Regions from separate parts of the Homo sapiens genome. Here region 2 is linked to region 1. The links are contacts of gene promoters, found by promoter capture Hi-C in blood cells and fetal thymus (Javierre and others, 2016). All regions are on one chromosome and are shown on one strand. The core of a region is centred on a gene start or on the middle of the fragment in contact, and the rest is flanking DNA. Distances in the headings are between cores, read along the strand shown. Region 1 holds the start of C19orf38 (chromosome 19 open reading frame 38). Region 2 holds the start of EIF3G (eukaryotic translation initiation factor 3 subunit G).

What was found. Contacts are between HindIII fragments. The CHiCAGO score rates a contact against its expected background, and 5 or more counts as called.
Region 2: the fragment with the promoter of EIF3G here is called in contact with the fragment with the promoter of C19orf38 in region 1 in 1 of 17 cell types (monocytes); the score reaches 6.0 in monocytes.

Annotation. Positions count from the first base shown.
Region 1 is chr19:10,845,962-10,850,769 of GRCh38, reverse strand. It overlaps C19orf38 (chromosome 19 open reading frame 38), which reads right to left and starts at 2,355. Exons shown (of 7, transcript NM_001136482.3): 1 at 2,231-2,355; 2 at 203-511. The coding sequence starts at 2,261. The HindIII fragment of the contact is 13,315 bases long and covers 1-4,808 here.
Region 2 is chr19:10,118,649-10,123,456 of GRCh38, reverse strand. It overlaps EIF3G (eukaryotic translation initiation factor 3 subunit G), which reads left to right and starts at 3,558. Exons shown (of 11, transcript NM_003755.5): 1 at 3,558-3,617; 2 at 3,757-3,803; 3 at 4,286-4,369; 4 at 4,501-4,589; 5 at 4,730-4,789. The coding sequence starts at 3,598. RefSeq lists enhancers at 3,300-4,055, 4,056-4,808. The HindIII fragment of the contact is 4,736 bases long and covers 1,153-4,808 here.

The DNA.
Region 1 (4,808 bases), core at 1,106-3,605:
CCCTGTGAGCTGACTTAAGCTCAGTGAACCAACAAATCCCCTTTTGGGCTGGCTGAGAAGATTGAAAAAGGAAAGGCGAGTAAGTCCTGGCAGGGTGTAAGCCTGGCTTTTTCTGGGAAGGCCTCTGAGTCAACAGTACACACAAGAGGTCCATGTGAGAAAATTAAGCCCCCGGCAGTGAGATCCCATAGAAGGGCCTTACCTGGGAAGGAGACGTTCACGGGCTCGCTGAGGTCTGACAGCTGGGACTGGTTGAGCTCACCTAACACTCCATACTGGCAGTGGAAGGGTCCCCCTGGAGCCTTGCTGCTGCCGCCGCTCAGGTTAAATGTCACCCCGCGCTGGTCCGTGGGGGCCTGCAGGAGCTGGACCACCTGCCCCCCTCGATACAGTGTGAAATTCGCCCCCGGGAAGTTCCCAGGGGCCATGCATGCGATGTGGATGGGGTCCTCTTGGCTGCTTGGGTACGGGGGCACCAGCCGGATGGATGGTGCTGGGATCGCCAAGGAGCCTGCAATGCAGAGGGTAAGGTGGGTGGGTGCGTGGTGAGAGTGGAGGCTGCCCTGGCTATGTGGCCTCGGGCAAGTAGACCACCCTCCCTCAGCCTTGTGTTTTCTGTGAGTCAGGAGGCTAGTGACCCTACCCCACACTGCCTGGCACATGGTGACGGCTCCCTGTAGTTGAATTACTTTTCTTTTTTCTTTTTTTTGTGAGTCGGAGTCTCACTCTGCCACCCAGGATGGAATGTAGTGGTGTGATCTCGGCTCACTACAGCCTCCACCTCCCGGGTTCAAGTGATTCTCCAGCCTCCCAAGTAGCTAGGATTACAGGCATGTGGCACTATGCCTGGCCAATTTTTATATTTTTAGTAGAGATGGGGTTTCACTATATTGGCCAGACTGGTCTCGAACTCCTGGCCTCGTGTGACTCCCCCCACCTCGGCCTCCCAAAGTGCTGGGATTATAGGCGTGAGCTACCATGCCTGGCCATCAGTTTTCAATAATAGCATTGGTTATTACATAGCAACACAACTATACTCTTATTTTTTATTTAATTTATTATTACTTTATTTATTTATTTAGAGACAAAATCTTGCTTTGTCGCCCAGGCTGGAGTACAGTGGCCTCAGCCTCCTGAGTACCTGGGACTATGTGCCACCATGCCTGGCTAATTTTTATATTTTTAGTAGAGACGGGGTTTCACCATGTTGGCCAGGCTGGTGAACCTGGCTAGCTAATTTTGCTTATTTTGTGTAGAGATGGGATCTCACTATGTTGCCCAGATCCTCACCTCAAGTGATCCTCCCACCTTGGCCTCCCACGAGCTGAGTCCTGAGTGGTGAGGAAGGACCCATTTGGAGAGCTGGGGAAGGGCATTCCAACAGAGGGAACAGCATAGGCAAAGGTCCAGGGGATGGAAGGGGAATGGGGGTGTTTAAGGAGGAGCAAACACCTGATGCAGTGGCTCACGCCTGTAATCCCAGCACTTTGGGAGGCCAAGGTGGGAGGACTGCTTGAGCCCAGGAATTTGAGACTAGCCTGGAGAACACAGTGAGACCCTGTCTCTATTTAAAAATAAAAATAAATATTAAAAAAGGAGCAGCAAGGAGGCCATCATGGCAGGAGGGAGGGGGTGAGTGAGGTGGGTGGCAGGAAGGGGAGGGGGTGAGTGAGAGGGAGGGCAGGAGAAGGAAGGGCAGAGGACTTTTATCTCCTTTCCCAGGCTTGGGTGAAGAATACGGATTTTGGAGCACGGCTTCCTGCAGGATGGTCTCCTGGGGATCCATCTCTCTCCTGATTGCCCACAGGCTTCTGAGCAGAGTGTCTGGCCAGGTGAGGTCTATACAAACCCTCCCTCGTCCAGCCTCCAACCCCCACCCACCCCTGCCACACTGATATCCCCCTAGGTAGACCCTCCTGCTGCCCCAGCACTCAAGGAGCCTTCAGAGACGAAGCGGGGCTGAATCATGGGGTGTGGGCACAGCTGACTCCAGAGGGGTGATATTTCTGATATTCATAAACTTGGGGGTGATGAGGAGCCTAAGAAGAAAAAACCAACACTACTGGAGAGTTTCCAAGGCTCAGGGGGAAAACCCATCTGCCAAGGGCTCAGCCTCCTCGATGCCCTGAGAACGGCAGCCCCTGCACTGGTTTCTGCCCCTGGAGCGGCAAGGTGGACAGAGGATGGGGGGAAAGGCGTGGGGGATCTGAGAGGGGGGCTTCAGACTCACCAGCTGCAAAGAGCAAGATGGTCCAGGGCATCTCTCTCTGCGTTTGGCTGGGAAATCCGGCTGAGGCCAGAGGGGCCCAAGGCTCCCCGCCAACTCCTCCTGTGAGGCCAGATCGGGGAAAGGAGAACCAGGGCTGATTCTCGAGCTGAGAGTTTCCTCACTGGCAGGAAGTTGCACACACAGGCTTGGGCACTGAAAGGGACTCTCTCCCCTCCCCACCCCTTCCCCAAACACACATCAGACCCGCGCACCTCTCTGGTTGCGGTTCTGCAGATTAGAGGGGAAAAAAATGGATGAGATGTTTAGGTGGTTTTCACAATTTTTTCCTCTTTTTTTATTTTTATTTTTTGAGACAGAGTCTTGCTCTGTTGCCCAGGCTGGAGTGCAGTGGAGCGATCTCGGCTCACTGCAGCCTCCACCTCCCAGGTTCGAGTGATTCTCCTGCCTCAGCCTCCTGAGTAGCTGGGACTACAGGCAGGAGCCATCATGCACAGCTAATTTTTGTATTTTTAGTAGAGACGGGGTTTTGCTGTGTTGGCCAGGATGGTCTCGATCTCTTGACCTCATTATCTGCCCGCCCCAGCCTCCCAAAGTGCTGGGATTTCAGGCGTGAGCCACCGTGCCCAGCCTTTTGTCTCTCCTTCTAAGAGAACTCCTGGGAATGAGACAGGGTGACAGCAGTGGGATGTTTGGAAACCCATGCCCAAGACACAAACCATAGCCTAACCAGCACCAACATTTAAACAAATATGGGCAGGAGTGGGAGGACATGGTGGTTAGGGCTTGGCCTCTGTGACCTCAGGCATGGCTTACCTCCTTTGAGGCTTCAGTATACTGCTCTGCAGAATGGGGCTAAGAGTAGTAGACATTAGGCCAGACGTGGTGGCTCACGCCTGTAATCCCAGCACTTTGGGAGGCTGAGGTGGGCAGATCACCTGAGGTCAGGAGTTCGAGACCAGGCCAACGTGGTGAAACCCCGTCTCTACTATATACAAAAAATTAGCCGGGCGTGGTGGCACACGCCTGTAATCCCAGCTACTCGGGAGGCTGAGGCAGGAGAATCACTTGAACCCAGGAGATGGAGATTGTGGTGAGTTGAGATCGCGCCATTGCACTCCAGCCTGGGCAACAAGAGTGAAATTCCATCTCAAAAAAAAAAAAAAAAAAAAAGAGCAGTGGACATTAGATTCAAAGAACTTGTAGTAGGAAATGCAACGCCTAGTGGGTAGTGCATGCTCACAAGGTAAAGTTACAGGGAGGAAAAAGACTCAGAAGTTTGATCAGCCACATGAAAGGGAATACCAGTTCCAGATCAATTCTGGATATAGTTTGTGATATAGTTCACAGGATAAACTGCCTCCTGTTTACAGCCCAGAAACTTCCAAGTTTCTCTTACTACTGGGTTTGCATTTATCTTTTTAAACATTTCTGTTCAAGCCAGTCAGGTTTGCTTGGGGGTTTGGACCCAAGAAGGATGTGGCATGTGGTCATCAAACACCAAAATGCGTCATTAGAGTAAACTTTTTTCTTTGGACACAGAAAGTTCAATCCAACCTCAGGGCCTTTGCACACACTATTTCCCTGGCCTGGAACACAATTCTGTCAACCTGGTCAAATCCTGCTTCTCCTTCAGGTCTCAGTTTAAATAGCACTTCTGGGAAAACTTTCCAGGCCCCTCTGGACTTAGAACAATCCCCTAGCTAAATTCTCCCACAGTGCCCTGTAATATTCCTTTATTGCAATTGGCATGCTTGTATCTTCAAGGAATTTGCTCATTTCATCAGAGTTGTCAAATGTATTGGTGTAAAGTTATTTATATCCCCTTACTATCCTTTTAATGTCTGTAGGGTCTGTAGTGATGTTCCTTCTTTCATTCCTGACACATAAATTAGTGAAGTCTCCTTGTCTCTTATCGGTCTTCCTAGGAGCTAATCATTGTTATTGATCTTTTCAAAGTGCCACAGTTTGGATTTGTTGTTTTATTTTCTATTTTATTGCCTTTTGACTTGACTTTATTCTTTTCTTTTTTCTGGTTACCTTATGTTCAATTGGCTCTTCTTTTCCTAGCTCATGTTTTGTTTTTAAATTTAAACTTCACCAGCAGAAATTTGTATTAATAGCTTCTTAAGATGGATGCTTATATAAACTCTTTTTATTAAAAAAAAATTTTTTTTAATTAGCCAGATGTGGTAGTGGGTGCCTGTAGTCCCAGCTACTCGGGAGGCTGAGGCTGGAGAATGGCGTGAACCCGGGAAGGAGAGCTTGCAGTGAGCTGAGATCATGCCACTGCACTCCAGCCTGGGCAACAGAGCGAGACTCTGTCTCAAAAAAAAAACAACAAAAAAACATTTTTTTTTTGAGACAGGGTCTTGCTCTATTGCTCAGGCTACAGTGAAGCAGCATGATCATGACTCACTGCAGCCTCACCCTGCTGGGCTCAAGAGATCATCCCATCTCAGCCTCCTGAGTAGCTGGGACTACAGGTGTCCACCACCACACCTGGCTAATTAAAAAAAAAAAAATTGTAGAGACAGGGTCCTATTATGTTACCCAGCCTGATCTTGAACTCCTGGGCTCA
Region 2 (4,808 bases), core at 2,309-4,808, 730 kb after region 1:
GGCTCACACCTGTGTAATCCCAGCACTTGGCTCATGGCAGCCTCACCTCCTGGGCTCCAGCGATTCTCCTGCCTCAGCCTCCTGAGTAGCTGGGATTACAGACATGCACCAACATGCTCAGGTAATTTTTGTATTTTTAATAGAGATGGGTTTTCACCACGTTTTCCAGGCTGGTCTTGATCTCCTGACCTCAGGTCATCTGCCTGCCTTGGCCTCCCAAAGTGCTGGGATTACAGACGTGAGCCACTGTGCTCAGCCTCTTTCTTTTTTAGAGACAGGGTTTTTGCTCTGTCACCCAGGCCAGAGTGTAATGGCACAATCATAGCTCACTGCAGCCTTGACCTCCTGGGCTCAAGCAATCCTCCTACCTCAGCCTCCCAGGTAGCTGGGACTACAGGCGTGCATTACCACACCCAGCAATTTTTTGTGTGTAGTGATGGGGTCTCAATGATGTTGCCTAGTCTGGTCTTGAACTCCTGGGCTCAAGAAATCTTTCTGCCTTGGCCTCCAAAACTGCTGGGATTATAGGCACGAACCACAGTGCCCAGCCAAGAAATATATTTATATGTTACATCTCACATATATTACATAAATGCATATTATATATTAATACATGTCCAAAAATAATATTTCCTTTCTTGGTGCCTTCTTTCCAAAGCATTCCTCATTAACAGGTTCTGATTCTTTCTTTCCAGGAAATGATTTGCATATATCTGCATATCTATGTGCTGTTGAAGATTTACACAAATTGGTTCCTGTAATATATGCCATTTTATATATCGCTTCCTCTTTTTTTTTTTTTTTTTTTTGAGATGGAGTCTTGCTCTGTCGCCCAGGCTGGAGTGCAATGGCGATTCTCCTGCCTCAGCCTCCCAAGTAGCTGGGATTACAGGCACCCACCACCATGGCCAGATTTTTTTTTTTTTTTTTTTGTATTTTTAGTAGAGACGGCATCTCACCATGTTGGCCAGGGGCTGGTCTTGAACTCCTAACCTCAGGTGATCCACCCACCTCGGCCTCCCGATTACAGGTGCCCAGCCTGTTTCCCTATAACATCTTTACTACCACGGGGTGATATCGAATTTTTGAAGCTTTGCCCAATCTGCTGGGTTGTTTGGATTTTGTGTTGCTCAGAGTACATTTGAGTAAGCTTGTAAAAATGTTTATCAGTCCTTTGGACCAGCTTCATATTTTCACCAATATAGCCAGGCCACCCTCCTGAAAGGCCACAGCGGCGTGCCTCTCTTTCCTGCTCTCCAGCTAATGTTTTCCCTTCCACTTGGCTCTCTACAGGCTTCTAGAATAATTTTTTCCACAAGAAAAGTTGGTGATATTCCAAACACTTGAGTGGCCTCCTCACTCACAACTCAGAGGATAAAAAAGCATAAACTTTTTTTTCCTGTCTTCTTATTTATTTTTCTCAGGGCATTCTCCCTTACAAGTTATTTTTTGTTTTGTTGCGTGTGTGTGTGTGCGTGTGTGTGTTTTTGAGACAGGGTCTCTCTCTGTTACCCAGGCTGAAGTACAGTCGCATGATCATGGCTCAACCTCCTGGGCTGAAGCTGTTCTCCCACCTCAGCCTCCTGAGTATCTGGGACTACAGGCACACAGAACTATGCCCAGCTGATTAAAAAAAAAAAATTTTTTTAAGGGCCGGGCGCAGTGGCTCACACCTGTAATCCCAGCACCTTGGGAGGCCGAGGTGGGCCCCCGTCTCTACTAAACCGTCTACTAAAAACACAAAAATTAGCACGGCGTGGTGGTGGTCATCTGTAATCCCAGCTACTCGGGAGGCTGAGGCAGGAGAATCACTAGAACCCGGAAGGCAGAGGTTGCAGTGAGCCGCGATTGCGCCGCTGCACTCCAGCCTGGGCGACAGAGTGAGACTCCATCTCAAAAAAAAAAAAAAAAGTTGTTTTTTAGAGATGGGGGGTCTCACTATGTGTTGCCCAGGCTGGTCGAATTCCAGGGCTGAAGTGATCCTTCTGCCTCAGTCTCCCAAAGTTCTGGGATTACAGGCGCGGGCCACCACACCCAGCTAATTTTTGTATTTTTAGTAAAGACGGGGTTTCGCCATATTGCCCAGGCTGGTCTCGAACTCCTGACTTCAAGAGATCTGCCCATCTTGGCCTCTCAAAGTGCTGGGATTACAGGCGTGAGCCACTGCGTCCGACATTGTCAAACGTTTTTTGTTCATTATCACCCTTCTTAGGAGAAAACCCGAATTATCCTAAAATTGAATTTACATCAACTAAATTAATTTCAATTTAATTACATTTAATATCTCCCTAAAGGCAGAAACTAAATACTTAGGGATAAATGCTGTCTGATAGAGCTGGCTTTGGAAGACCACAATATCTAAGATTTTTTTCCTCCCTGAGGACCAGTTTTTTCCCCTGGGGAGTCATCATGAATCACTTCGACTGAGGACGGTTGTGCTTAGAGCAAGGAGCTGAGCAATAAACAAGTAAATGCACAAAATTATACCGGAAAGCCAAGAATGCTACAAAGAAAAGAAGAGGGAGTGGCTGAGGGGAGGCCACTTGGCATCTGAATCATTGGGATCGGGAAAGAAGACAAGGAACAGTTTAAGCAAAAGGATTGTTTTCCCCGAACTTTGGTTTCTTTTTTCTTTCTTTTTCTTTTTTTCTTTTTTAGAGACAGGGGTCTCACTATGTTGCCCAGGCTTGTCTCAAACTCCTGGCCTCAAGCCATCCCCACGCCTTGGTCTCCCAAAGTGCGGGATTACAGGCAGGCGCCACTGCACCCAGTCTGAGCCTCAGTTTCTTCAGCTGTAAAATGGAAGTAATATCCTCCTCACCATGCTTCATATACAATAAGCACTCAATAAGTGAGCTTTATGATTATTATTATTTATTTTAATTTTACTTATTTTTCTGAGACGGAGTCTCACTCTGCAGCCCCAGGCTGGAGTGCAGTGGTGCGATCTCGGCTCACTGCAGCCTCCGCCTCCTGGGTTCAAGCGATTCTCCCGCCTCAGCCTCCCGAGTAGCTGGGATTACAGGTGCCCACCACCACGCCTGGCTAATTTTTTTTTTTTTTTTTTTTTTGAGACGGTGTCTCGCTCTGTCGCCAGGCTGGAGTGCAGTGGCGCGATCTCGGCTCACTGCAACCTCCGCCTCCCGGGTTCAAGCGATTCTCCTGCCTCAGCCTCCCGAGTAGCTGGAACTGCAGGCACGCACTACCACGCCCAGTTAATTTTTGTGTTTTTAGTAGTGACGGGGTTTCGCCACGTTGGCCAAGCTGGTCTCGAACTCCTTACCTCAGGTGATCCGCCCGCCTCGACCTCCCAAAGTGCGAGGATTACAGGCTTGAGCCACCTCGCCTGGCCTATTTTAATTTTAAAGGTTAATAGGACCAGCCCTGAAATCAGCCTCTGCCCCCGCTGGCCCTACTCTGGTACCAGCAGCGCCCAGTAGCATACACAGCCGCGTGCGCCTCCACCTCCGTCCGCAGGTGTCGCTGTGGGTGCCGCGGCTGGGCCCCTCTAGGCGGCGACGGCGGCACCGGAAGTCTCGTTTTCGCCCGCTTCCGCTCTCTGGCCGGGCTTGGGCTGCGTGGAGAATACTTTTTGCGATGCCTACTGGAGACTTTGAGTGAGTCGGCGATCGCGGAAAGGGGCACGGGAAGCGGTTGGGGTGCTCTGGGAAGTATTATGGGGCCTGGGTACGCCGAGGCTGCGGGAGCCGGGCCTGGCTGACTTAATCTTCGTTCCCCACACATTTGTTTCCGCAGTTCGAAGCCCAGTTGGGCCGACCAGGTGGAGGAGGAGGGGGAGGACGGTAAGTGTACACGGTCGCCCGGGGTATTCGCGGCCAGGCCCAAGCCGTGTGACTGCCGCCTGCTTCCATCTCCCAGTCTGGCACCGTGTACCCCGTCACGGTCTGCCCCTGCCCCGCGCCATCCTCCTTGGGACCCGCCTGTTGCCAACTCCAGGTGTTCCCCGGCGGGTCCCTCTTCCTCCCATGCCACTGCCTCCCAGCTGTTCCCCTCCAGGGAGGAAGTTGTAATCTCCCGTCTCCTGTTTCTCTACTGGCGCCTGGTTGGCTTCATGGCCTGGCACCCACCTTCCTACGAGGGATCTCCCATCCTTGCCACTCCGAGTCCCCACAGGGCCATCCCAGTGCGTTGCCTGGCCAGCCCTCTGCCCTTGGCCTGCCTTTCTCCGCTTTTGCTGTAGGCGTCATCCCAAAAGCCCTTCCATCGCAGCTGGGGAGCTCCTGCCCCTGGAGCTGACTCCTCCTTCCTACGCTGCCTTTTGCAGACAAATGTGTCACCAGCGAGCTCCTCAAGGGGATCCCTCTGGCCACAGGTGACACCAGCCCAGAGCCAGAGCTACTGCCGGGAGGTGAGTGAGGACTGCCGGGAGGTGAGTGAGGACTGCCACTCGGTGTCCGGGCTGCCTCTCCCTCCAGCCCTGCCGCTCCTGATCCCCATGACCCAGGGCTCAGTCTTTCTCTGTTTTTCCCCTTCTGCCAGCTCCACTGCCGCCTCCCAAGGAGGTCATCAACGGAAACATAAAGACAGTGACAGAGTACAAGATAGATGAGGATGGCAAGAAGTTCAAGGTGAGGGTGGGGGGTGCAGGGAGTGGGGACCCTTGTGCTTGGGGGCCCATAGACCGGAATGGGGTGGGGTGTGTTGAGGAGGTTGATAAAGGAGATCCCTTGGTCCCAGGAGCCTGACCCTTCTCCCCTCCCATCCTCAGATTGTCCGCACCTTCAGGATTGAGACCCGGAAGGCTTCAAAGGCTGTCGCAAGGAGGAAGGTGAGGCTCTTCTTCCCCA